Regions from separate parts of the Homo sapiens genome. Here region 2 is linked to region 1. The links are contacts of gene promoters, found by promoter capture Hi-C in human tissues and cell types (Jung and others, 2019). All regions are on one chromosome and are shown on one strand. Each heading gives the region's core, a stretch centred on a gene start or on the middle of the fragment in contact. The rest is flanking DNA. Distances are from core to core; before and after follow the strand shown. Region 1 holds the start of SYNJ2 (synaptojanin 2). Region 2 overlaps TMEM242 (transmembrane protein 242).

Region 1 (7,352 bases), core at 3,315-5,814:
GATTGTGTGCACCGTGGCCAGCGTCCTGGGCCTTTCCCACTCTCGCTAACTCCCATTCCCACCCTCGTGTCCTCATGGGGAGCTCACCAAGGGCCAGTTCTTGGGAGGATGGCGCCTCCTCCTCCAGCTTGCCCACAGCCCTGTCCCACTGCCTGCTCCCTTCTGCCTCCATACCTGTCCTCCCAACCTCCTCTCCCTCCCTCTGAAGATCCTGCCACCTCCTTTTCAGGGGACTTCCTTTCTCCCCTCTAGAGACAGGTGCCTCTCTGTGCTGGGGAGTGAGCTCTCCTGCTCTGCTCTTTGCTATTTGCCTTCCACCATGTGCAGGTCTGGCCAGTCCTCGAGGGTCTCTGCTATCCCGTCTGCCCCCCATTCTGTTCATCTTGTGTTTCTCCCAGCCTGGCTTCCAGAGCCAGCAGACTACACTCACAGCGCCATTTCTTCCTTATTTCTTTGCAAGCTGGCTTTTTTGCCCAGCCCTCTAGTGAAGCTGCCCCCTCAAAGGTCCCCGTTACCTTCTCACCAAACCAAGTTTCTTTTCTGAGTCCTGATTCTTGGATACCTTCCTGAGGTTTTTAAACCAGTCACCTCTCAGGGCTTTTGCATGTGGGAGGCTGTAGCCCCAGATGCCTGATGGCTGTTTCTCTTACCTCCTTCCGGTCTGTTAAAAAATGCCTCCTTTTCTGAGAGGGAGGAGCCCTCAGGAATGGTTTAGCGCCATCCTCTAGACGATGAGTTTTCACTCAGTTCATGTGAGATCCAGAGCTGTCCAGGTCACGCCCTTGGCCCCTCTGCTTTCTCGGGGTACTTCTTGATCGTCTTTTCCTCCTGCCCCTGCCTTCTACCCCTGTCTGTCTCCACTCCCCTTTGATCGCTGCCATACTCATTTCTGGCCCCTCATCTGTAGGCATTTCCCACTGGACGACCTGCCCACCCGGTCTCTGTCTCCAATTAAACTCGCCTCCTCCTCACTCTGGGATGGTATCGCTGCTGTCCCATTCTCAAAATGCCAGGGTCCTGTCTGACTTCCCACTTTCCTTTGTGCAGCTCATATCATACAATCAGGCACCAAATACAGATTTGTATTTCCTTTAAACCTCTCCTGTCTTACTCGGCTCGGGCTCTGATAGGGGTTAGATGTCTGTCCACTCCAAATCTCCTGTTGAAATGTAATCCCCAGTGCTGGAGGTGGGGCCTGGTGGGAGGATTGCATCATGAGGGTGGACCTCTCATGAATGGTTTAGTACCATCTTCTTGATGATAAGTGAGTTCTTGCTCAGTTAGTTCACGGGAGATCTGAGTGTTTGAAAGAGTGCGGCACCTCCCCCCAGCTCTCCTGCTCTAATCTCACCACGTGACATGCTGGTTCCTGGTTGCCTTCCACCATGACTGTAAGCCTCCTGAGGCCTCCCCAGAAGCAGACGCCAGCACCATGCTTCCTGTACAGCCTGTGGAAGCGTGAGCCAATGACATCTATTTTCTTTATAAATACCCAGTCTCAGGTATTCCTTTATAGTAACACAAATAGACTAATAATACAGGCTTCCGCAATAAAATACCACAGGCCAGTGGCTTAAACAATAGAAATTTATTTCTCAGTTCTAGAAGCTAGAAATTCTGAGATCAAGGTGCCAGCTGATGTGGCTCTTGCTGAGGGCCGTCTTCCTGGCCGGCAGATGCTCAGGCCCTTCCCTCTGTGTCTCTTCTTTTTTTTTTTTTTTGTTTTTCCTTCTTTGAGACAGAGTCGTGCTCTATTGCCCAGGCTGGAGTACAGTGGCTCCATCTCTGCTCACTGCAACCTCTGCCTCCCGGGTTCAAGTGATTCTCCTGCCTCAGTCTCCCGAGTAGCTGGGATTACAGGCACACACCACCACATCCAGTGAATTTTTTTGTATTTTTAGTAGAGATGGGGTTTTGCCATGTTGGCCAGGGTGGTCTCAAACTCCTGATCTCAAGTGATTCACCCACCTTGGCTTCCCAAAGTGCTGGGATTACAGGCATGAGCCACCGCGCCTGGCCTGTCTCTTCTTCTAAGGACACTAATCCTATCATTCTTATTGAGAGGGCCCCACTGGCATGACGTCATCTGACCCTAACGAGCTCCTAAAGGTTCCATCTCTAAAAACCATTCCACTGGGGGTCAGGGCTTCAACATATGGATTTGGTAGGGCAACAGGGGGTGGGGATAGGGTGGCTCAAACGTTCAGTGCATGTCTCCCCTACTTCCCCTCTTTGTTTCCTCTGATAACCTGTTGGGGTTCCTGACTCCCTCACCCACACCACGCTGAGCTACATTTCCTGCTGTGGCTTACTCTGGGGCTGGTGGAGTTGGCTTTTGCTTCCTTCCCCATCTCCTCCCCTTCCCAATTCCCTACCCTCCAGGCATTATACATCTCAGAGAGGGGAAGCGCCCAACTCTCCTGCCGCAGATGGGCCCACCCCTTTGCCCAAACGCCGCTGGGGGTTTAGGTGTCTGAGCCAACCTTTTCCTTGAAGGCCTCAAGGTCAGTTGCTCCATCTGCGAAAGGTGCCTGTGCCTGGGTACCCTTGGTCTATCAAGCCAGTGCGCATGTGAGGAAGCTGCTCCCTCTGCCACCCAGGTGGGCTGTCCCACCTGAAACCAGACAGCAGAGGCCCCAAAACCCAGCAGGCTCTTGGCTCACCCAGCCATTTCTCAGAGACGGAGGAACAGCCACTGTAGTTCCTTGAGTCTGAGACGTGCATTTTAACATTGTCTAAATCAGGGCAGAGATGACTATTGGTGGCATGTTCTAGTTTAATTGGAAGTTTTTTTTTTTTTCTCAGTGGTACATAAAATAGTGGTTCATTTTACAGTTGATGGTGACTTGGATTCTATAAGCTGTGAGGCTCAACTGCTGGTCCTGACTGCAGGAAAATTTCTAAAATAGGTATGGCATGCCACTGTGCAGGACTTTAGACTATATGATGCTAGTTAGGAAAGAGGAGAGAGAGATAAATGGAAGACTGGGTCCCCTCCCTAAGGCCTTACCACTCAATTTGCAAAACAGGGCTAAGAGAAAACATAAAAACACTTCTCAAGCAACATATGAGTAGGTGAGAACTGAAGTCTGTAAATCTGGGTGTTATATAAGCACTATTATCTGGGACCTCAGCATTCCAGGAAAGCTTCCTGGAAGAAGTGAGTTTCAGGTCAAAAAGTGGGCCAAAGGCTGATCTGCCTCACTGAATGGGCACACTGTTTTCATGAGGTAGTAATGTTTCCATCTACACAGAAAGAAGCTGCTCGGACAGCTGATGAGCATCATGCCTGGGATATTGAGCACATCATGCTTGACCTGGGCAGAGTTTGTGGGCAAGGAAAGGGGCTAAGGGTCAAGATAATCTCTGCTGGGGTTGTTCAAATTTATTACCCAACCATCACCTGAGAGGTTGTCCCCTGAGGATGGCTTGTCTGGTCATTACTGAATGTCTGCAGGGGCATGGCAGTGTTCTGCTTGGCTCTGGGGGCTCTGCCCTTTCTAGGACAAGTCCCAGAGACAAACAGCTTGGCCCAGTACAGCAGAATGGGGTGAGAGAGGAACTGAGTTCGTTTGCGGGCAGGATGGAAACAGCTGATGGAGGCTTCTCGGGCCATCCTCACGTACCCATCACAAGCGAAGGGAATTAAGCCGCCAAACCACCCCAAAGAGTGACTCCAACTCAGCCCTAAACACCCATACCCACCCCACCTCCCCTGCAGCTCTGACAGGCCAAGCCTGGGCGCTAGAACCCCGCGCCAGAAGGCCGGGCCACACACTCCAGCGTACACGCGCGGACACGTGCCGGTGTCCAGAGCCGGTGGGAGAGGCGCTGTCACCATCTGACAGGAGAGGAAGGTGGAGCGCAGAGAAGTCAGGGTCACGTGGTAAGTGGGGGTCGTGGTCTGGGGATCACGGCTCCAGGTCTCTTCGCGACAACGCACCGTTGACCCCCAACACCTCTCCCTGGCGGGGTCGGTGACCGCAACAGCCTCCGGGATAGAACGCTAGTGAAAGGTAACCTTTCTCCAGCCCGCTCCACGCGCTCCGCACCCGCTAAGCGCCTCCGCGAATTAACTCAGGCCTCCGCGCCGAAGTAGGCGCAGTTATGACCCCGCTTCCCCGCAGGGAGACCGAGGCACGCAGGGTCGAAAGGACTCGTCCAGGGTCGCAGGAGCCGACCACACAGGGAGGCGCAGCGCCCCCGGCGGGAACAGTCAGCGGGTCCAGCCTGGCGGACTCCCGGGCCGGGCTGCCCATATAAGGCTGCGGGCGGCCGGCATCGCAGCCAGGCTCCCGGGGTCGCCCCGCGCGGGGCATCCTCCTCCGCAGCGAGGAATGCGTGGCATCCGGGAGGCTCTTCCGCTCCACGCCCGCCTGCGGGGAGCCTCAGCCCCGGGGCGCGGCCTCGCGCAGCTGCCTGGCCGCTGGGGGGAGCGCGGGGCCGGGCGGGAGGCGGCGGCGCGCCCTCACCTGCCCCAGGCTGGGGAGGCGCGAGTGGGGAGGAGGAGGAAGGGGAGGAGGCCGGGGAGGAGCCTGGCGCGGCGGGAGCGGCGGCGCAAAGTGAAACTCTGGCAAGTTGCGGGCGCGCGGGGAGCTGTCGCGGGCAGCGCGCCCTCGGGAGGACGTGGCCCCGGCCCCCGCCCGCAGTGGGCCCGACCCTCATGGCCCTGAGCAAAGGGCTGCGGCTGCTGGGGCGCCTGGGGGCCGAGGGGGACTGTAGCGTGCTGCTGGAGGCGCGCGGCCGCGACGACTGCCTGCTGTTCGAGGCCGGCACGGTGGCCACGCTGGGTGAGTCCGGGCCGGGGGCAGCGACGCCCGGAGGAGAGGGCGCCCGCATTCGCCCAGCCTCGGGAAGACGGGTACCCCCCCTTCCCGAGGGGATCGGGCGGCGCTGGGACTGCCGGGGCGTAGGGGTCGCGCGCAGAGGGGTGGCTGTTTGAATGAAGTGGGGCTGGGGACTCGAGAGAGCACTCTGGCTGGGCCGGTGGCGCACGGAGGCCGGCCGCCCCTCCACGGGGATCTCCGGCCCGCGCCGCCAGAGGATATGGTTGCTGGATAGCCGGCTGGGGCGCTTTGCGTATTCATGAGGATCCCGGGGTGTTGACTTAGCCGGCCTGACCCTGTGCCTGGCGCCTTTTCTTTTGCACCTGTTGATGAAACCAGTGATTGCCCTTTGGTTTGTGTTGGCGGCTCCACTCCTGGAGGGGATGGGGACAAAAGCCCCAAAACATAGGCTCTGGAGAAACCGCTGATGGCAGCTTTGTCCCACGTAAATACTTGGTCGAGAAGCATCGGTGCTGCAATTTATAGAACTTGTAAACAAATATACCATGACCTTTATGCTGTCTTAGATCCTGCCAAGCCAGCGAATTTCACCTATGGACTTCAGAAGCCTTGAAACTGGCATTGTGCTATGGGCTTTAGTACGTGATCTCACTTAATTCTCACAATTCTACTAAAAAGCTATTATTATCCCCATTTTGCAGATGAGCAAACTGAGGCCTAAAGAGGCTAAGTTGCTTGCCAAGGTGACACCATCCACCTGACTTTTATGTGGCTGTTTCTGTAATGTCATTCAATGCGTGGCTTCCTGGTATCGCTAACCTGGGTCCCTTGTTTTGTGCTAACCATTATAAGGAAAACCTGGGTAGCACCAAAGCACGTGAAACCAGGTCTGATTGTTAGACTTCTAAATGTGGACACCCGAGAGTAAGCTCCCACCACTAGGCGTCCAGCTGTAACAGCTTGCCGGTATTCCTAGCTAAACAAGGTGCAGCCCGGGGTCACTCGTACTTGAGGTGGTCGGCAAATGCAGCAGGCTGCTTTGTAGATGCCTCTAGCCTTCTTTTCACATTTGTATGCATCGACTCCCGTTCGGATGTATGTCTTGGAAGGACTATCTCTCCTATTTCTGATTCCCTAATCATTTCATTAACATGCATTTATCCAGCTTGTTCTCAGTCACTTGATTACTGAAACAATGTCTCCAGTAGTCTCAGCATCAAAAGTAGGCAGTGAATTGTAGATTAAGTTATTTTCAGATTATTCTAATTTGTGCTGTCCTGAAGAGTCTAAGTTTGGTTATTTGGTGTGGCCTTGAAAGAAAACCACAGAAATTTCCATTCCATTTTAGATGTCTACTTCATACCACATTTATCGGAAGCGAAAGAGTAATTTCATGGTACAAAACTACTGTTTCATCAAATAGATTAAGATGTCCTTCAGTTGGATTACGGCAACATTAAGCCAAGTTCATACACATTCAAGAATTCTTTGAAGCAGCTTAGAAAAAAGAGATTTTATTTTTTCAAAAGTGAAGATTTAAAAATGATTAATGACAGTAATGTAGTGCATATTTTCCATTAGGAGCTGAAGTTTGGGCTGAGATTTACATCACGGTGGTGATTACAGTATACCAGATTTTAGAACAGAGAATGTAAGAAAGGAATTGGCTCGTCTTCAACTCATGTGCAGTCCACATTTGTCATTTAACCTAGCATTCATTTTTCAGTAGAAAACTTTAAAAAAAAATTTTTTTTTTTTTTGAAACAGAGGCTTCTTCTGTTGCCTAGGCTGGCATGCAGTGGCACAGTCACAGCCCACTGCAGCCTCAACTTCCCAGGCTCAAGCGATCCTCCTGCCTCAGCCTCCTGAGTAGCTGGGACTATAGGCACATGCCACCATGCCTGGCTAATTTTTTCTCTTTCTTTTCTTTTCTTTAAATGGGGTCTTACTATGTTGCCCATGCTGTTCTCGAACTCCTGGGCTCAGGTGATCTTTCCGCCTTGGTCTCCCAAAGCGTTGGGATTACAGGCATGAACTACTTACTGCGTCTGGCCTGAAAACTTAATTTTTTAAAGTCTGTTTTGTTTAAGTAAAATGAAACTATTTTTAAAAAGCAGCTGTAGCATTTGGTGGCTTTGCTGGTCCAGAGAATGTTTGTAGGAGAGAGCCTTATGTTACTAGAAAGTTGTTTAAAACTTTCAACATATCCTAAATGCATCACTATTGGATAAAATGGCTCTGAACTTGAAATTCCCATCTGTGTTCCAAAGGGCTAGCTAGCTGTTTTACTTTCCTTTCTTGGAGAAAGTGATTATTTTTTTTCTTTTTTTTGAGATGGAGCTTCACTCTTGTTGCCTGGGCTGAGTGAAGTGGTGCGATCTCGGCTGACTGCAACACCGCCACCCCCACCTGGGTTCAAGTGATTCTCCTGCCTCAGCCTCCCCAGTAGCTAGGATTACAGGCACACGCCACCATGCCTGGCTAATTTTTGTATTTTTAGTAGAGACGGGGTTGTGCCATTTTGGCCAGGCTGGTTTCTAACTCCTGACCTTAGGTGATCCACCT
Region 2 (7,363 bases), core at 3,670-6,169, 680 kb before region 1:
CCAAAAGTCTGGTGGGGGGTATGCTGGGAACTAGAGTACCCATCCAGCAACTCCGTTTCACTCCCAAGCATTTTCCAAACTGTAGTTCTCTCTTCTTTCCTCTGACCAGGGAAAATTTTCCTATACTATGGATAACAGGGTTACCCTTCCAAGCAGTGCTGCTGTGCCCTGCACACCTCCAGGGGGTGCTTTCCATAAAAACTAAGACATGAGTGGAGTGTGGTGGCTCACGCCTGTAATCTCAACACTTTGGGAGGCCTAGACAGTTGGATCACTTGAGGCCAGGAATTCGAGACCTGGCCAACGTGGTAAAATCCCGTCTCTACTAAAAATACAAAAATTAGCCAGGCATGGTGGCGCACGCCTGTAGCCCCAGCTACTCAGGAAGCTGGGGAAGGAGAATTGCTTGAACCCAGAAAGTGGAGGTTGCAATGAGCCAAAAGCATGCCACTGCACTCCAGCCTGGGCCACAGAGTGAGACTCCATCTCAAAAGAAACCAAAACTAAACAAAACCAAGACATGAATGGTACTCCCCAGTGCCGTGGGCCCACCATCCTCATCTAAGACATGAGTATTACTCCCCAGTGCCGTGGGCCCACCATCCTCATTTCTAAGTCCCAATGCTTTGTGTCCAACAGTGCTGCATTGTCATAGTCACAGAAAGTACCACCATCTGAGGTAGTAGTGCTCAAATGGAATGTCAAGACAAATGGAAAATGTATTACAAGTAATTTGTCACAAATATGGATGTTCTGTAGATACAATGGCCTTTTTAGACATTAAAACAGATTCAGGATTATGCCTCTAATAATGTTATTCTCGTTCACATTTCAATAGGCCATATAGCCAGTAGGCCAGGAGTGAGGCCAACCACTGATGCCACTTAGAGAGTCCTTACTGTATGCCAGCCATATTTCTCATTTAACCCTCCCAACAACCAAGTGGGGCAAATATCATCCCTCCTTTAAAGCTATGGTGATGGAAGCTCAGAGAAACGAAACAATGTGCTCAGTGCCATGGCTGGTAAGAGCAAATCTGACTGCACAGCCTATGTGCTTACTGTGTATCCTGCTTGAATATGCACAGGGGACACTGCTGCACATTTACCATGCATGTCTTGGTAGGGGAAAAACACTTGAAAACATTTGGTCTAATATACAGTATGCTGAAAAGTTACTTAAAAGCCTCAGGTTATGTCCCCAATTTAATTAATTTCAGAAAGTCCTTAAGCATCAATTCCAATAAATAGGCAGTTGTTGGAATTACAAGCTCTCAAATTCCGCAGCTGAGCTCTCAAAAGCTCCTAAAACCGCCTAGAACTGAAACCACCACTCTTCTCTTCCCACTTTCAAGGAGCCCAGCACATCAGTGAGTCCCATTATATGACACTGCTTCCTGAGAAATCAACATTTCTAGATGTTTTCAATAAAGCAGTATGGGAGTTCTGGTCAGGGTAGAAAAGGGTCAGTGTTTTGGAGGATCACCATCATGCTTGATAAAATTCAACTAAGCAGGACTGGCCTGGTTTAGAGGGCAGATACTGATATTTTCACTTTTGACTAGTTTTGTTGCTATCCACATGGATCCTGAGATGAAATGTATTTGAACATACCGTATTATTAAATATTCAACTGCATTAGGAAAGCGAATGTGAATTTTTACATCTCAGCTTTCCATTTTCTAAGCTACTAATCCTATTATTTAGATAAATGTCAGACAAACATTTTTACTTTCTCCCCAACTTTCACTGTATCACATGCATAAAGTCCAAAATCTGTAGTAAAGTCAATTGATTTAGAAATACAAAGCACACATGTAACTTTCTGAGAAATACAATCCCTGAAGTATGCATCAAAATGGCCAATTTTTATGACAGTAATTAACAATCAGGCACAAATTCAAAAGCAAAAACTTTCTGTAAACATGAAATAAACTGAAGAGCGGAATAACCCAGGAGGCTCTTAGAGCCAGGGCCACTCTGAAGCTAAGATCCTGCTCAGTAAGAACAATTTCTAACATGCTTCTTGATTTAATGCGCTAACAGGTCAGGTTCTCAGGAGCGATTCTAAAATGATTTTTACTCAGTCAGGCTTTATTTTTAGTAACTGCAAAATTTAGGGAAGTTTCCTTTCCCGGCCAAACAAACAACAGTAACTATACCACCTCTGACTGTCAAGCCTCTTTCTAAAAGCTTTCTGAATTACTGCGTTAAACATTTTATAACAGCTACCATCAGATCACTATTTTCATATCTTAACCAAATGATCCTGCTTCACTGGTGTGCGCACATACACAAGTGTGTGCATGTACACACATGCCCAACATGCAGCTGCAGTCCCCACTTCATGTCTTTTTAACGACCCAGCTGAAAGGCCGTCCCAGAGGAAATGAAGGCGGTTTCAAGATGGGTCCATTATAAAAAATACCTGTACGTATATACTTTTATTTTTACATTGTAGAGGAAGTTACCACTTTTTTACAGCATATAAATGAACATAGGTATAAGCCAGCAAGAAGAAAGCATGTATCTAATGAAAATAATCAGAATATCTAGAACACAATAAATACTTACATCCTACTTTTTGGGAACCAAATGCCAACTACATATATAACAAGGCAAGTGCTGCTACATCAGGGGTACCAAAAACACTTTCTTTAGGAATTGTAAATAAGTATCACCCAGCACCTGGATGCTAAATAAAAGAGCTGGAGGACTAAATAAATAGGTAAGTCATTTTATCCACTTTCCTGTTTCCATATTTTAGGAATTTAAGTTTATTCAAAATTTTGATATATAACCCTATATCTATGATCTCTTCAATAATTTCAGAATGGTAGTTTTAGACAACTTTAAAGCTTCAGTTCCTTCTGAATTTCTCAAAGTGTTTTTGCACTCTCTTTCAGGGGGGCCTCCTCTTCAGGGGTCAGCTTTCCCAGGACACAAGGAATATTGAGGAATACTTCTTCATCTATTCCACAGAGACCCCTAATGATGGTGGAAACTGGATGTGTTCTCCTAAGATTCTTCAAAATACTTTCTGTTAAATCAGCTACAGATAGGCCAATGGCCCATGAAGTATAACCTTTCATTTTAATAATCTCATAGGCACTAGCAATCACTTGTGGACATTTTTCCATTGTTCAGGATCTTTATCAGTTCCTGTATCAGAGTTCAGATTCTTCAAAGCGACACCAGCTATGTTCACTCCACTCCATACAGGAACACTTGAGTCTCCATGCTCTCCTAGGATCCATCCGTGGCAGTTTTCAGAGTGGATACCAAGCTTTTGTCCAAACAAGAAACAAAAACGAGCAGTATCCAGATTACAGCCGCTTCCAATAACACGGTTTTTGGAAAATGCACTCAACTTCCAGGCTACATAAGTTAAGTTATCCACTGGATTGGAAACAATAATCAGCTTGCAGAGGGGGCTGTACTGGACAATACCGGAAATCATTAACTTGAAGATGGCCACATTTCGCTGGACTAAATTAAGGCGCGTTTCTCCCTTTTCTTGACGTGCACCTTCTGTGATAATCACTAGGCTGGAGTTTGCTGTGACAAGGTAATCTTTGCTACAAACAATATTTGGCGTTTTCATGAAAGGGCTGCCATGTTGAAGATCCATTGTCTCACCCTTCAGTTTGCCTTCATCAAGATCCACAAGGGCAAGTTCATCACTCAAGCCTTTTAATAAGATGCTGGTAGCGCAGGCCATGCCCACCGATCCAGTTCCTATGATGGAGACCTTACTGTGATGAGCGGGCTCCTCGGAAGTGAAGCGCTCAACAAGCTCACTCTTCACGGGGGTGAAGAGCCAGGCGCCCTTGAGCGGCATGCGCGCTGCCTGACTGGGACACAGGGACAGGAAATTCGCTCCTGCCGAGCTCACTCTCCGGCTGGCCTGCACAACAGACACAGTCCAACTCATGGCTGCTCACTCAAGAAATGGAGGGAGAGAATGGAAGAAAACTGCTGACCAGGACGTCGCAACGCCAAGAGAGCCATTAGCAGCACCTTCAGCCCTCTGTGGCGAGTGCGCAAGACACGCCCCCTGGCCCTCTACTGCGGCTGCGCGGGCCTTGCCAGCGCCTTCAACATGTACTTTCCGTTGGTGCTGAGACTAAGGCAGTGAAGGGCTGCTTCTCGAGCAAGTGATTTCTGGAGTTAGTTTTACAAAGAGTATTCTCATCGATAGTTGACATGCTTAAGAGGTTAACCCAGATCCCCGGAATTACTAGTTTTCTATTTTTAGTATGAATGCCAAGGAAAAATGCTTCTATTAACTACGGATGAAAATCAGGTTACATCTTCTGAACGGTGACCCTGCCGGGAAGGATAGGGCGCTGTGCTTTGCATACGGGTGGTTGCCTGCACCATCTCCCAGTGTCCCAGAAGTGGGCTCCTGCTATCTGGTGTATGGCGCCGGAGGCCTATTTATAAAGGATCCCACTGCCTTGGTGCCAGTTCTGGCCAGGACCCACACTGGGACAGTCAGCAGGAGCTTGAGCAGGGTAGGGGCCCGCTGGGAGTCATCCCATCACTAAAAATTCACCAGGCGAGAATGCTATTCCTTTCTCATGCTAGAGGAAAGCCTTTGATTGTGCGTCCCGAAGAAAAACGACTTCTCAGGTAGAAAGCTGGCAATGCAGTCCTCAATTAAAATGAGGATATCTCTTAAAAGTCCTTAAAATGGCAAGTTTCAACCAATGCATAAATCAGATTATTGACCAAAGTAGTGAAATAAATGATCTAGTACAACGTGGCATCAGTATGCCTTATTTCTTCAGCATTTCTCTGGGCAATCTTAAGAACTAAATTCCCTTACAGTTTCTGAGGAGGTGTCAACTTCACATCTGATGAAATGCATACCCTAATAAGCCCAGTAAACTACAAAAGCTCCAAAAAAAATGATGGCACTTTCTCCTCACTTATAAACAGCATTCTGCCCGTGTAATGGTTCCTCAAAAGCTCTCCCTCTTGTTTTATTTAAAAGCAGTGTGCTCTTCTGGAATGGGGCCCCTTGGTACATGTAGCTCCTCATGATCAGCAAAAAAAAGATTTCCGCTTTAGAATATTGAATGCTGACAAAATGAATACTTTATATTTGGACTTGAAAAGCTATTACTTTTTTTTTTTTGAGACAGAGTCTTGCTCTGTTGCCCAGGTGCAATGGCATGGTCTCAGCTCACTGCAACCTCTGCCTCCCAGGTTCAAGCCATTCTCCTGTCTCAGCCTCCCGAGTAGCTGGGATTACAGGCACCTGCCACCACACCTGGCTAATTTTTGTATTTTTAGTAGAGACAGGGTTTCACCATATTGGTCAGGCTGGTCTCTAACTCCTGATCTCAGGTGATCTGCCTGTCTCGGCCTCCCAAAGTGTTGGGATTACAGGCATAAGCCAACGCGCCTGGCCGAAAAGCTATTCTTATTTGTGCCATTGAAAGGCAGTCCAGGGCTGGACGCAGTGGCTCACACCTGTAATCCCAGCACTTTGGAGGCTGAGTTTGTGGATCACTTGAGGTCAGAAGTTCGAGACCAGCCTGGCCAACACAGTGAAACCCCATTTCTACTAAAAATACAAAAATTAGCCGGGTGTGGTGGTGTGTGCCTATGGTCCCAGCTACTCAGGAGGCAGAGGCATGAGAATTGCTTGAACCCTGGAGGCGGAGGTTGCAGTGAGCCAAGTTCATGACACTGCACTCCAGCCTGGGCGATAGAGCAAGACTCCGTCTCAACAAAAGAAGAAAAAAGGCAGTCCAGGAGGAGAGGAACAATAAGCAAAGGAGTTGGTGAGGGTGGGAAAGGTGTGCCATCAGCTGAGTTCCTGACATCCTGTTTCAGGGTGACCTCCTGGCCATGTTTTCCCTATCAGTAAGGATCAGATACCCCGTTCAGATGACAGAGCCACAAACCAAATGGTAAGGGGACTAGGTACATGAATCCTCTTAGCACTGGTGGTCAGATTTTTGGTTAACATTTGTCAAATTAAAAACTGCAGTTTTAAAAGGGTCATCTTTATTTAATGGTGGCCAATGTTTTAGAGGAATCCTTTAAAAGCAACAATTTTTGATAGCTGTCATTTCTTTTATCTCAGTCATAACTTGAAATGTTTTAACCTGGTGACTGTTCCCACCATCCACCTATAATGATTCCTTTCACCAGTCAAGTCATTTTCCAAGATAAGTGTTGTTGAACATGAAATTCAAGGACATAAAGACTCTTCGCGGGATGGCTACTTTCTATAGTCATTTTCTTTCTATCGTTTGAACCTCTTCAGAAATACAATCTCTCTAATAGCTGCCTCTTCAGTTTTTCCCCTTAGCCACAACTAAATCAATCTTGAGGGGGAAAAAAAACTGTTCAAAATAAAAACATACCAAACAAAGCAGCTTTTTTATTTACAATAAGTCTTGAGATAAAAAAGGAAAGCACTAACAAAGACGAAGAGATGTATGTGACCTCCAGAGCATATTTAGGTCTACTCAAAGATGTGGAAAGCCAAGTATAGCTAGACAGCTCCCTAGTGACTTCCTATCCTAGGTGGCTCATTATTCCTTCTGAATTGAAAACCTGACTCAAATTATCTATTCAAAACGCAGTACAGTATTATAGCTAATGGCAGGATTACACCTCAGTACTTTCGGTTGTACCACTTAGGAGGGAGGAAGCAGGAAATGAAAACAACCAGCAAGTCCCTGGGCCAAGAATGGCTGCCACTAAGTCACTATTCCTTTCACCTGGACTCACACCCAGCTCTCAAATCCTCCTTTTCCTCTCCGGGAGTCCAGTTCTGATATTCCATTCTCTCACCAATCTTTGCCAATCCCCTAAGCAGAACTGGCTTTCTAAAAGCCTATGTCACCACTGTACTTTGTACCTCTCTCCATTAGAGGATTTATCACACACAGTTAAATGTAAAATACTTACGAATGTGCCACTGCAAGAAGGATCACCTTTTATTTACCAGCATATCCCTGTCCTCTAGAACAGAGCTGGGCCCACGAATAGGGATTTGGTAAATGTAGTAGAAAAGAATGAGGAACTGTAGAGCTGAGTGAGTAAGGCTGGGGAGTGGGCTAAAAGGTGAGAGAGACAGAAAGGCGGGGCCACAGACCCCATCTAGAGAGAGTTCTGAAAATGAGGGTAAGTAAAATGGGTAGGTGGCACCCACTGGGGCATCTTTAGAAAGTTGATGCATATATTTCAAGTAAAGCTTTGGATAAGCTAAAAGATTTTGTGGCTATTTTCAAAGCCAATACCCACTTTTACCAAGTTAAAACATTAAAAAACAAAACAAAAACAAAAATCTATTACAGTGTTAGAAATGCAGTAAAACAAATATGCAGTGGCAGAGAAAC

The links. Contacts are between HindIII fragments. The study calls those that stand out against the background at their distance.
Region 2: a contact is called between a fragment that was not itself captured here and the fragment with the promoter of SYNJ2 in region 1, in 1 of the 25 tissues and cell types used here (spleen).

What each region holds. Positions count from the first base shown.
Region 1 is chr6:157,977,299-157,984,650 of GRCh38, forward strand. SYNJ2 (synaptojanin 2) reads left to right here and starts at 4,565. Exons shown (of 27, transcript NM_003898.4): 1 at 4,565-4,790. The coding sequence starts at 4,664. RefSeq lists enhancers at 3,801-3,850, 3,815-4,330, 3,871-4,060, 4,081-4,130, 4,331-4,846 and a silencer at 4,251-4,830. The HindIII fragment of the contact is 15,452 bases long and covers 1-7,352 here.
Region 2 is chr6:157,296,194-157,303,556 of GRCh38, forward strand. All of the region lies in intron 3 of TMEM242 (transmembrane protein 242), which reads right to left. It also overlaps the pseudogene LDHAL6FP. Among named protein-coding and RNA genes, the nearest start is that of TMEM242, 24 kb to the right of the region's middle. The HindIII fragment of the contact is 4,790 bases long and covers 2,525-7,314 here.